Regions from separate parts of the Homo sapiens genome. Here region 2 is linked to region 1. Evidence: promoter capture Hi-C in 16 types of primary human blood cells and fetal thymus (Javierre and others, 2016). All regions are on one chromosome and are shown on one strand. Each heading gives the region's core, a stretch centred on a gene start or on the middle of the fragment in contact. The rest is flanking DNA. Distances are from core to core; before and after follow the strand shown. Region 1 holds the start of MGP (matrix Gla protein). Region 2 overlaps STRAP (serine/threonine kinase receptor associated protein).

Evidence for each region. Contacts are between HindIII fragments. The CHiCAGO score rates a contact against its expected background, and 5 or more counts as called.
Region 2: a fragment that was not itself captured here is called in contact with the fragment with the promoter of MGP in region 1 in 1 of 17 cell types (total CD8 T cells); the score reaches 5.2 in total CD8 T cells.

What each region holds. Positions count from the first base shown.
Region 1 is chr12:14,882,903-14,889,525 of GRCh38, forward strand. MGP (matrix Gla protein) reads right to left here and starts at 2,952. Exons shown (of 4, transcript NM_000900.5): 1 at 2,829-2,952; 2 at 1,311-1,343; 3 at 70-145. The coding sequence starts at 2,889. The HindIII fragment of the contact is 4,253 bases long and covers 2,239-6,491 here.
Region 2 is chr12:15,892,524-15,899,767 of GRCh38, forward strand. It overlaps STRAP (serine/threonine kinase receptor associated protein), which reads left to right. Exons shown (of 10, transcript NM_007178.4): 5 at 1,524-1,620; 6 at 2,836-2,973; 7 at 5,359-5,495. Among named protein-coding and RNA genes, the nearest start is that of STRAP, 14 kb to the left of the region's middle. The HindIII fragment of the contact is 692 bases long and covers 5,622-6,313 here.

The sequences.
Region 1 (6,623 bases), core at 1,702-4,201:
CCACTCCAATTCAGATCTGTGATCTACACTGGGAAAAATGACCACTCCTCATGAAGTTTTGTTACTGACCTCTCTTGGACTTTAGCTCTCCATCTCTGCTGAGGGGATATGAAGGTATTTGCATTTCTCCTGTTAATGAAGGGATCTTAGAACAGAAAATAAATAAATGCAGTTTTAGCGACACATAGCTGGAAATATTTCCGTGAATATTCCTTGACACAAATATATTTGAAAGTGCCTTAACTTATGCAACTCATATAAACGGAGATTGGCAAAAATTAAAGGAGAGTATAAAGTAGATTTCATTAACTTCCTGATCAAATGAAATCAGTAATCAATCCATGTGTCTTAGAGACTTGTCATATAGGCTTTGTTGGTTTTGAGTTTGGACGATCACTTTGCCTTTCTTAATTTCTGTATTTCTACTTGGTAGATTTTAAATTCCTTTTGAGGAGAAATTCTCTGTCCTGAGGATTTATGAAGCATAACTAGATTGCCGATACATGAACAGTTTAAACACTATAAAAATAATGAATAAATTAAAAATGAGAGTGATGTGCCATTTCCTCCTATGCTCAGTCTTTATAAATCCAGCTATTCAACAGCAATCAGCTGGCTGGGTGTGGTGGCTCATGCCTGTAATCCCGGCACTTTGGGAGGCTGTGGTGGGTGGATCACTTGAGGCCAGGAGTTCGAGACCAGCCTGGACAACATGGTGAAACCCCATCTCTACTAAAAATACAAAAATTAGCCAGGCATGATGTCATGGGCCTGTAATCCCAGCTACTCAGGAGGCTGAGGCATGAGAATTGCCTGAACCTGGGAGGTGGAGGTTGCGGCGAGCCGAGATCACACCACTGCACTCTAGCCTGGGCGACAGAGTGAGACACTGTCTCAAAAAAAAAAACAAGAAAGAAAAACACAAAAAAACCAAAACAGCACTCAGCTTAACGTGGCGCCTGTGGTCTCCCAGCTGACTTGGCGTCCAGCTCTGTGCTTTACCATTTGTCATTACTCCTCGTTTTCCATCTGTGCAGTTGACGTGGTGCCAATTTAAAATTTCCAAATGAGATTTTATGGCTTCTAAATATGTCGCCTGTAGCTTAAATCCCATATTGCACTACTTCAAACTTAAAAAATTGCTCCTTTGGCAATTTTTATAGTCATTAGATTTAAAAATTTACTTTAGTTTTCCAAAAGAGGCCCCCTTTTCCCTCCCTGTTATATATCTTTCCATCTTGTTTATTTAAAAATAAGAAGAGGTTCTTTAATGCAAGGGATTTGAATAAAGAAGTTAAATATTCACTTACTAAGTTCATAAGATTCCATGCTTTCATGTGATTCTGAAATTAAAAAAAAAAGATTCATTATATCAATATTTATCCATGATTCATTATGTTATTATTTATCAATTTAGACACTGTGATAGTTTAAATACAGGGATGGAAGAAGAGGAAAGAGTCTAAAAACATGAAGAATATATTTAGCAGTGTGGTTATTAGAAATTTCAGGAATTTAGGATTTATGAGGTTTTTCTCTAGCTCTGGCCTTGCTGTGGATATCTCTATATTTTAGTTTCTCTGATGTTGAAGGAGGGAGTGGCCATTTTCAGCTAAAATTTCCCAAGGGCTATGACGTCTTCAGACAAGCAAAATAAGACACTTTAAGTGCTGTACAGAAGTCTCCAGAGAACCTTCTTCTCTGATTTATTCAGAGCCTGTTTGAGAACAGGGTCAAAGAGGATTAAGAAGGATCCAGAAGACAGCCAGGTTTCTCCAGGCAAGAGAACTACAGGGCAGTTGCTCTGCTGGGCTTACTAGGGCAGGTTTCTAAGAGGGTTCCGAAAGCCTCTTAAGAACCTGTGTTAAATTGGCAGCCACAGAAACCACTAGCTCCAGCTGACAGCTCACCCTGGGCACGATGCCAGTTCAGAGAGAGAACTGAAACGATATCAAAGCCGAAGTTTTCTTCTTTCTGCCACTCTCCTGAGCACAGCAGATAAATTTTGGAATAAGAAGCTTCTATTAATATTTGCCAGCAAGTGAATTTTCTTCAAAACTTAAAAAGGAGGTGAAGAAATCAAATCCTCTAATACAGAAAATTTGTGAATACAAGAGTGAGAAGCATAATCTTTATGGTTGTTAATGTAATTTAAATTTTAAAACAATGAAAATATCTAGGTAATTGAAACAAAAGACTGAAATAAGTAAATAACTTTGCTTCAGATTTCCTTTTATAAGCTTTGAACAAATGCAGGTATATTTAATGACATATAGAAAACAGGCAAAATTTATTTTCTGACAACAGGAGTTATGAAAATGATTCTTTTCTAAAATTCTTTTGATGTAAAACTTTATTTTAAAATTAATTAACTGAACAAACATAGTAAGTTCATGAGATTGTCCAGTCCCTAGAAAGGGCTATACTTAATACTTCACATAAAAATGGATTTTCTCAAAGGCAAGTGGTTTAAACAATACCCTTAACCCATTGATACCAAAGTCTAAATAAATATCCTTAAAAATGAGGATGCAGGGGGCTGGGAATTTGGTATCTTCTTTCTGAAATATGAGTTTCTAGATATACAGAGACTTACCACTGAACGGGTTTGCCTGTTAAGTTGCATAAGACTCTGGATATTTAGGATATAAAAAAGACTTAATAGAACAGATCAGTTTCTGCGGAGACTGGGAAATGTGAAAGTAATGGTACTTTAAGATTATAACAGAGAAAGGGGGAAGAAGAGGAGGAGGGAGAGGAAAAATAGAAGTAAGCCAAAGTCAGAGGCAGAAAAGTAAACACAGAGAAATGGGAGAAAAGTTTCTCACCATAACACAAAGTTACTACCGCTAAGGCGGCCAGGATGGCAAGAAGGATCAGGCTCTTCATGGTTTCGTCCTGCAGGTCAGTCTCAGGGTCTTGTGTAGCAGCAGTAGGGAGAGAGGCTCCTACGGGATGTTAGTGGAAGGCTGTGAGGTTTTTATAAGAACCAGAGCAGTTGAGAGGGGAGGAACCAGTGGGAGAGAGCTGGAGAAGGTGGGGAAGGGTTGGCACTGAACTAGCATTGGAACTTTTCCCAAACAGTCATTCCTTCCAGATATTATCTACTCTGAGTGGGCAGTTTTCCCTAACTGCTGGACCTGACTGTGTTACACAGGATGCTGCTCTGGTGCAGAAGTTTTGGCCATCGTATGCTTGGGGACAGACCTGGGCAAAAGCCCACAGAGGAAGTTGCCACAAACACATGATCTACCCTCCTGGCCCTGACCGCAGGGCTTTTGGGTTTGGTCCACAGACAGAGCCCTAGTGTTCTGTTTGTTACCCTGATTGATTGATGAGAGGTTTTGGGGGAGAAAGGACTTCACTTTCTTTTCTTTTCTTCTTTTTAACCTTTGCCTCTTCTTCTAGGAGAACTTCGCTTTCTACACTGATTATAATTTAGACATCTTCCCAGTAGGGCTGAATCCTAGACCAATCTATCAATCCCAGACTAATCAGGCATTTGCCTGGGGATATGCATCTTTGGCATTTTTCCAAGGGTTCATCAGGATGGAGATATCCGGTGCACCATGAGTTCTGTTTCCTTAATCAACACCGTTGTAACTTGCCCATCCAGTTTTGTGACATTAATTCAAACCTGTGCCCTAGTCCTCTTTTAGGCAGCGTATCAGTGCTGGAAAGTGCAGCAAGGATAAGAGGGTACTGTTCTCTCATTTCTGAGGGCGTTGTCTCGATAATTAACTAACTTGATAGACTTTTTAGTGAGTGGCAGGTGAGATGCAAGGTACTGTGCTAGGTGCTGTGGGGGATGTACAGACAAACAACACACCTCCCTAAGGAGGTAAGTAATAGCTACTTACTATTCACTTTGCTCTTTCACTGTAATGTATCCTCAAGCACAGGTTTTCACTACACCATCAGGCCCAGAAGTACTAGCTTATTTTCCACAGGAGGATTTCAGTTTGATGCCTCTGGTTATCTTGTATAGAGAGGTCTTTTCTTTCTTTCTTTTTTTCCCCCTTCTTTTGCAATCACAAAATCTGTCCTACCAGATGTGCCTCTCTTGCTTGGGAACCCAATAGTTTTCTTTGCAGACAACAGACTTGAAGTCACAGAGCAGCAGATTGTAGAAGAGCTACAGCTTCGGGACCTCTGACTCTTGAGCTGGAACAGCAATAGGGCTGGGTTGGGGGTGGGGTGGATGTGTCTTTCAATACTGATGTATTTCAAGGAGCAGTGATGAACTAGGTGGAGCCTCATGCTTCATTCTTTTTGTCTTGTTGGGATGGAGTTTCCCTCCCACCCTCCATCCTGTGAAGAGCTTTTATAAATATTAACAGAGTCCCCATTAAAAGAAATAGCTCCTTTGAAATCTGAAAGATTGAGTTCTGAGGGATCAATAAAATTCAAGTTTTCTCTCCAAAACCTAAGAAATAGATTATCTGTGCGAAAATCTTAAAGAAAATCTCAGAAAGAAGACCGTGTATGTTCATCCTTGATAAATTCAACCATCACAATTTCCACTAATGAGACTGGCGGTTGTTCCACTCTTTAAACCACAACCTACTATGAGTGTTAGTTTCAGTGTCCATCTTGGAAGATGAATCATCTGAATCATTACATGATCAATGAATAATTTAAAGTGCGAAAGCCAGTTCACTATATTGCATGACTTTGGGGGGACAAGCTAGCCATAGATAAAAGTTTTATACGTACTTAGCTTAGTAATTAACCACCAATTAATATAACATCAAACAAGTTGAATTCCAATGTTTCACCCTTAAAATGAGTAGTCTACTCTCCCCATCCCCACTCCATCTCCAGAATTAAAGAGAAATCTTCCCATTTTCCTGCTATAAATATGTGCTTTGCAATGTACATTAGCTCTGTCTTTTCCAGCCAAGTCATAGATGTCTCCTTTATCCCCAAGTTCAAATGACAACTATAATCTTTCAACCTCTGACATCACAATTGTTTTTTTATTTTTACACTCCCAGAAACTAAACTTGAAAATCCTACACTTCTCATTTCAACTTAAGGTTCACCTTTTGTTCACCTTAAATCACTGCTTCCACTGGATTCCCTAAACTTAAGCATTTCTCTTTATCGTCTTGGTTTTTGTAAGGCTAACTTTCTTTTGGGAGCTGTGTCTCTTCGGTCCCTCATCTGCCTTTCCTGTCCATTGCTCTCCCATCTATTTCTGGTTCTTCTCTGCAAAATCCCATTTATATATGATATGTAAAAATTATTAACATGTCTGAGAATCCAGAGCTCTTCTTTTTCTCCTCTGTCACCTTACTCCCCATTTCAAAGACAACTTTGTGAATGCCAACTCCAGTCATATGTTTTTATGATGAGGACTTGGACTAACGCATGAAGCAGGGATGGGAGCTTTGCATTAGAAAGGACCAAGATTGACTCATCTGAGAGAAGACAGAAGAAAAGAATGGAAGTAGGAAAAAAAAAAAAACGGAGAAGGGGAAATGAGAAGAGCCTTACCAATTTGGTTTGCTGGGTGAGTTTTAGGTAGAGACTGAGTGACAGAGAAAAACGGAGGCAGTTGTAGAAGGTGAGACATATTAAAAGCGAGACATGGGAACAGAGAAATAAAAGTTGCTTTGGTTAGGAATAGCATTGTTTGAGATTGCAGAATACTGTCTGAAAATTTTCAGAAAATATTGAAATTTGAACAAATTAATTTTGCCAGCTAGTTTGCATTTTCTTAATTGGGATATCTTGTCAAGACGAGACCACATGAAACTCTAAATTCTAATTAGATTTTAGATAATTATGAAAGACACTTATATAGACATTTTCCCTTAACAAAAAAGAAGTGTTATTCAGAGGAGAGAATATTTGAAGAAACTCCCAGAAGTGATAACAGAAATATGAGACAGTGATATGATTGCCAGTTTTTAAACATGTGTAGGATTCTCCTCATGTGAGGTTGGCAACGTAGGAACTGAAGCAAGAGAAGCCATGGAGTAATACAGATCTCCTATTCCACCTACTCTCAGGCAGAAAAGAGAAGAATGACCATGCCTGTCAGGGCCAGAAGGAGCTTCATGATTTCATAATTCTCCCATCCATCCATCCATCCATCCAGCCAGCCAGCCAGCCAGCCATCCATCAAGTTATCTATCTAGCCAACAAATGTACTGAGCATCTACTGTTTGTCAACTCTAGGCTGGAAATACAGTAGAGAAAAATACAGATATGGGCCCTGTCCTCATGCATCAAGTGTGCTCTTTGAACAAAAATTTAATAGTGGCTCCTCTTATTTAAAAAATTGTTAGGCAGCCAACTGGCCTTAAAGGAGACCAAGTGATGAGCTTTCTCACTGGGCTGACCATTCTTATGGGCACTCAGGAGCATCTCTGTTTCCAAAGCATCAAGAAAGGTGCTAGTGACCAGCTCAGATAATTCTGAATTTAGGGAGGGAATGCAGGAGAGGAACATTGGCAGAGCTTCTGAGAATTACTGTGGGGAGAAGCTTCTCAGAAAAGTATATTTGCCAGAGAATATACCAAAAGAGTTATCCCTTTCACATGGTATTTCTGTGACTAAAATAATGGCATAGAGGTAGAAAGTGTAATATATTTCCCTATCAATTCTACCTCCTT
Region 2 (7,244 bases), core at 4,718-7,217, 1.0 Mb after region 1:
AATCTATAAAATTTTAAAGAGTAATAAGAGAGTCAGAACCACATTGGAAATTAAGCGGTTATTCTCTTGAGATACCTTCCATTTCTGAGAACTTTTTAAAATATTTTACATTTTAATGTTACAGTAATTTGTTATGAAAACATTTTTAAGGTGAGGAAACAAAGCGCATTTGCAGATTTTTTTATTCTCCATTGCATGTAGAAGTTTTTTTCTCCTTTCTTTTTTGATAAATCTATGCCAAAACATAGCAAAGGACTCTGACCTCACTTCTTCTATGAACCCATTCAACAAAGCAAGGTAGTTCAGGGATTGGGTCAAAGCAAGGTAGTTCAGGGATTGGGTTGACATTTTTCATGCTCTTTACCTTTCCCAAAGCTGTTTTATGAAAGTTGCTCTTTCGCTGTGCTGGCAGCAGAAAATAAAATGAGGTTTTACTGTGTATCGGGTATCTGTTAAGCCCTATTCGCATTTGTAACCATTGTTATCTCATTTTACAGATGAGGAAATAAAGTTAAAAAGTTAAGTAACATGCCCAAAGGTGAAAATAGTGTTGAATGGCATTGCCTCCAGTGTCTGCTTTTGCCCCTAGAGACAGCAGTGAGGGTTTTTTGAAGTTCTTCGAAAGGATAATCTCCTACAGATTTAAGCTCCCTTCCTTTTTTTTTATGTTTTCCTCACAGTGTAGAAACATTCTTGGGAATTGCTGTCCCACTTTCTATTTCCCTTTTTTCCTTCCAACCCTTATTTCTCATTATTTACTATCAATAGCTGCTTGGATAAACGTCCCAGAGTTAGCCATAGTACTGCAATCAGATTCAACTGTTTTGTTCCTGAGTCCGTGTTCTTATTAAATTATGCCACGTTAATTATTTTATTAATAATATAATAAATACTTTTTATTATATATAAAATACTTTTTATTTATTATACATATAATAAATATATACTTTTTATTATATATAAAATTCTTTTTATTATACATATAATAAATATATACTTTTTATTTATTATACAATAATGCTTTTATATTTATTATACTTATACAATTATACAATAATGCTTTTATATTATACAATAATATTTGTATTATTGTACAAATAAATATTGTATATTATACAATAATGCTTTTATATTTATTATACTTATACAATTATACAATAATGCTTTTATATTTATTATACATATAATAAATATAAAATACTTTTTATTTATTATACAATAATGCTTTTGAATATTATCAGTTGTGCAGAAATTTAGCCTAGAGGGAGTGAGTGGTGCATTCACTCAGCTACATATAGCAAGCATGGTAGTTCCTTGGGTCCCTGTCATGCAGATAAATTTATGTTCCAATATAGAAAAACTAACTGTATTCTATATAAACATCAAGTTTGAATTGGGCTGGGCTTTGAAAAGTTGCAGTCTAATTTAAAATGTGTGTTTTTAAAAATATATAATTGTTCCGATATTGTTCAGTTTAAAAAATCATATATTAACAAATGTACTTTAAATTGTTTTATCTCAAGAACCTAAGGAAATTAGTGGTCATACTTCTGGTATAAAAAAAGCTCTGTGGTGCAGTGAGGATAAACAGATTCTTTCTGCTGATGACAAAACTGTTCGGTAAGTAATTTTTCTTTAATAATTTACAATTTAAGGCCGGGCATGGTGGCTCACGCCTATAATCTCAGCACTTTGGGAGGCGAGCCGGGTGGATCATTAGAGGTCAGGAGTACTAGACCAGCCTGGCCGACATGGCGAAATACTGTCTCTATGAAAATTACAAAACTTAGCCAAGCGCGGTGGCACACACCTATAATCCCAGCTACTCGGGAGGCCGAGGCAGGAGAATCACTTGAACCTGCGAGGCAGAGGTTGCGGTGAGTCGAGATCGTGCCATTGCACTCTAGCCTGGGCGACAGAGCTAGACTGTCTCAAAAGAAAAACAAACTTAAAATTTGCAAAATATTTTACCTTAGAGCTTATATTTTAAATACATTTAATATTATGTGTGAAAAATGTTCTGAACATTAAAATTTAAGTTGCACCCAGGTCACATTTATCTGGAGCTATCTATTTACTAATACAGGTTGAGTATCCCTAACCTGAAAATCTGAAATTTGAAACGCTCTGAAATCTGAGACTTTGAGTGCCGACTTGATGCTTAAAGGAAATGCTCATTGGAGCATTTTGAATTTCCTATTTTCAGGTTAGGAATTCTCAGTTGGTAAGTGTCTAATGCAAATATTCCAAAATCCGAAAAAGTTTGAAATCCAACTTTTTTCTGGTCCCAAGTATTTTCAATTAAGGGATGCTCACCTTGTGTATACAGACAGCAAAATTCAGAAGAAAATTAAATTGCTGATACCTTATAAGCAGGTGTTTTTAACCTGGGTCTGTGGGCAGAATGGTTAAAGGGAGGGACCATGAAGCCTCTGAAATTCTATACAAAATCTTGTGTGCTGACACCTGATGTATATTTCTTTGGAAAGATGTGTAGCTATTACTAGATTCACAAAAACAGAGTGTAAGAACCACTATTTATAGCAATGCTGAAATTGACTAGATTAGAACTTGTCTTAATAATGTAGTTTTGCCAAATTGGGAAGTGTATGTAGGTATTAAAGTTGATTTTACTTACAAGCTATCATGCATAATTTGACATTGTATATAGAAACCCAGAATTTTTTTTAATCATCTGTAATTTGTGACTTGGAATGAATGTTGTTTTTCTGTAATTGTGATTGTTCTTTCGTTGGCTAATCTGCAGATGTAATTAGAATTTATAAACTTTTTTCTTACATGAGTAAACATCATATTTTTATCTTTATTTTGCAGACTTTGGGATCATGCTACTATGACAGAAGTGAAATCTCTAAATTTTAATATGTCTGTTAGTAGTATGGAATATATTCCTGAGGGAGAGATTTTGGTTATAACTTATGGACGATCTATTGCTTTTCATAGTGCAGTAAGGTATGTCCAAGAAATACTTTCATTTTCTTTTTTAGGTAACAAAAGACATTTTGGCTACTTAAAAATGGGAAGGTATTTACTTTTTTTAAAAGTAAAGAGGCCAGGAGTGGTGGCTTATGCCTATAATCGCAGTACCTTGGGAAGCTGAGGTGGGAGGATGGCTTGAGATCAGCCTGGGCAACACAGTGAGACCCCCATCTCTACAAAAAATAAAATTAGCTGGGTGTGGTGGCACACGCCTGTAGTCCAGCTGCTTGGGAGGCTGAGGTGAGTATTCTATTGCTGGAGCCTGGGAGGTTGAGGCTGCATTTTGCTGTGATCTTGACACTGCACTCCAGTCTGGATGACAAAGCAAAACCTCCTCTGAAAAAAAAAAAAAAAAAAAAGCAAAAACTACTGAAATGGTGCTGTCATTAATGTTTTTTACTATATAAAACCAGTGTGGGCTGGGCGTGGTGGCTCACGTCTGTAATCCTAGCACCTTGGGAGGCTGAGGTGGGCGGACCACTTGAGGTTAGGGGATTGAGACCAGCCTGGCCAACATGGTGAAACCCCGTCTCTAAAATAAAAATACAAAGAGAAGAAAAATTAGCTGGGTGTGGTGGTGAGTACCTGTAATCCCAGCTACTTGGGAGGCTGAGGCAGGAGAATTGCTTAATCCCAGGAGGTGGAGGTTGTTTTGAGCTGTGGTCACACCACTGCATTCCAGCCTGGGTAACAGAGTGAGACTCTGTCTCAAAAAAAACAAAAAACAAAAAAACAGTGTGATCTTGATTCTACTATTTATTTTCACCTTAAAGTTTTAGAGAAGGAATAATCTTATTTCTGTTCCTGAGTATTTGCAGACTTAATGAATTTTTTAAACAGATTTGAATTTTGCGACTTTAAATGTAGTAAATACTCTTGGAGAAAGACTGGAATATATAACATAATTGAAAAAAATGTACCCACAATATTATACCCATAGGTGCAAGAGTGATAATGGTAGTTATATTTTCTGCTAGTCCATTTTTCTATGTTATATATGTGGGTGTACAGTATTTGTGTTTTTTTTTTTAATTACTAGGACCATAATGAATACCATTTTGATTTGTTTAAAAATATTGTTAGCCATTTAAAACTTCTTTGAAAACATTTTTACTTGATACACTGTATTTGCATCATAGGTTGTACTAAATTATGGGTTAGTTTCCCTGTTTTAGCACCACGGTGAATGTTCTAGCACATCTCTGAGTGTTTCTTTACAGTAGATAGGATCCTGTAAGTAGAATTATCAGTTCAAAGGCTAGAAATGAGTTTAAAGTTCTTAGTTATACATGACACTTAATTGATTTCCATAAGGATTATACCACATTACACTTTGATATTTGACCAGTGTCTTAACCTTGTGTCTAAAGGGCTAACTGGGAGAAAGAAAAGGCGGTAAAATTGGAGGAGAGCAATTAAGCAATGTCAAGGAGTTTATACACATACAGTAAACTGATAGTAGTAGAATACTATGGCCTGGAGCCATCAATTGGTTTATTAATGCTCTTCACTCACTCCTGCAGTTAGGCAAATCCCATGTTGGTGGCAGAAATTTTCTGGACCATTGAATATTCTAGCATTTGAGCCAGCAAGTTGCTATGTAGTGATCCTGCATAAGTCATGACTAACTTTAATTAACATGCTTTAAAGTATATGATGATGGGAAGTATTTAGGAGCTGGGATACTATAATGTTTTGTATTGGAGGCCTTTCATGATTTTTAGGGTTAAACTGAAAAAGCTAATGTCCAAACTGTAATTGAATTTCAGATGAAGCTGTTATTATGCATTGATTTTTATTATATAACTATAGCCCCAAATTTTGTTAGTCTTTTACTGCCTTATAGTAGAAACTGTTTTCAGCAGTTTATATTTTATGACATAGAAAGTTTATCTTGCTGAGGAGCTTAAACCTTCAGCAATTAATAATAATATATAAATAATCCTTTATGTTAATTACCTACTGTGAAAACTTTTTCTGTTTACAAAGATAATATGTGGTTGTAGAAAAATGAAACAATACAGGTGAAGTTTATTTAAGAGCAAAAATCCCAGTGTATTATTCATACTGTTTTAATTAGCCAACACACTCATTTCCGGGAAGACATCCACTGCATAAACTGGATATCCCTCCATCAAGATGTCTTTGTATTGCTGAGATGAGCTCCACTTGGGCATAGTATCCATTTGATTTTTTTTTTTTTTTTTTTGCTAACAGCTTTTTTTACATCAGTGTTTATGTTTGAGTAAATGAGTATTTAATTGTTCCTTGGGTTTCAGAATTTAAGAACAGTTCAAATGTAACTCGTTATTTATACCATATTCAAGATTTGTAAATACTACTTAAATTTTTTTTCAGTTTGGACCCAATTAAATCCTTTGAAGCTCCTGCAACCATCAATTCTGCATCTCTTCATCCTGAGAAAGAATTTCTTGTTGCAGGCGGTGAAGATTTTAAACTTTATAAGTATGATTATAATAGTGGAGAAGAATTAGGTGAGTTGTCCCCTTACAGTGATGTGGTTACCTTTATCATATGTTAAGTCCCAGTAATTAACACCTCATTTATATATATATATATGTTACATATATATGTTGAAAGTAAATTTTTCAGCTAACTTAAGCTTGGTGCTTACAAGTGAAAAAGTAAAGGAGTTTTAACCATTTGGGTCAGATGCTTTTATAGATCTGTAAACAAAGTATGCAGAAATTTATCCTTTTAACTAAAGTTCATCATTATGCTGATGTTATGTATTATGGTACAGTGAGTTTTAGGCTTTATTGGCTGGGAGGGAGGGGGGAATCTTATGTCAAAGTCATATGCTAAACACATGCAAGGAGATCCGTTCTTTCTGAACTATGTTGTGGGTGTATAACCCCATCTACTTGGCCCGTCTTCCTTTTTGCCAACTTAGGAATTCCTAAGACTCCGTAAAGAACAGTGTGTGGGGGAAAAATCAGTATAGCATATTACAGGGATACCTTTAGGAATCTGAATTGGATAGTTATTTTTATCAGCTTTTTATTTATTCTGTTTTGGAGTTTGAGTTTTGCTTTCATTTTCATGATAACAGTCCTTAGTAAGGGAAAGGGAAAGGCATGGGGATTAATTTGAAGTTAATGTATATTTATCTGATGGACCAGGTATTTCACATAGTTACATGTGGTTCTCAGTATCTACTTTTAGCCTTTCCAAATAGTTTTTGCTTTTAGGTCAAAAATATGTTTAGTTTTTATAAATATATATTTTTATCTATAAGCTGTCTCTTCTTGTTCTTGTCTGTTTCTAGCTGCCCTGCTTTACCAAAGAACGAAGCTTGCTAGATTACACCCAAAGAACAAAAGACAATTTTACGTTTTGTTTCTTGGGGAACATTGATGCATCTGGGTTGCACAAATGGAACCTTGGTGATGGACCATGTAGAATCTATTTTAATTGCTTATGGTTCAGTTTTTATTACTTGAATACAAGTGATTTATAAATAAGATATTCTTTTCTGTTACTTTTATTTAATGCTAGTTTTCAAAGTTTTAGAATGTTTTTGGTTTCATATTTTATTCTTTTTCAAGATTGAGAGAACTGAATTATTTGCCCAAGATCTGAAGTCACAGTGAATACCAGATCTGCCTAGCCTTTCTCTTTCCAAAACCTTGTGTTCTTTGTACTCTTACAACTTTTCTATTCTCTGGTGGGACACAGATGGGAGACAGAATAGGAACATTGGTCTAGTAAAGGGCTTTGAGAACTAATAAGGTGATGAGGCATTAGAAAGTAAATGAGAAAGGTTCATACTTAAAGGTACTACTTGAATATAACAGTGCTCCTAATCTATACATTTTCTCATTAGGTTCCATGGATTAAAATATTTATGGATCATTGTTGATCTATATCTCACCTTTCTGTGTGACAGAATAATTAGTGGACTGTAGGAAATTAAGAGGCAAAGTGTGTAAAAGAGCTCCACCTGGTGGCTCTCTATAGTCATAATAAAAATTGATTCCCTGAGAAATAGGCAGTGAGTTTTAGGATATGGAAATTGGAGGTTGAACTGGTAAGACTTTAAATCTACTTTCTATAGAATTAATGGGGTTTTCATTTACCTCTTTTTCTCCATCCTTAATGAGACATGAAGCCTCATTTGCTTTTTTTAGAGGGACAGTTTGAAACTAGAATGTGTGCTAGATTTGGAAAGGAATAATCTTACAGAGAAAGGGTCAATGATATACCACTTTTGTGATGAGAAA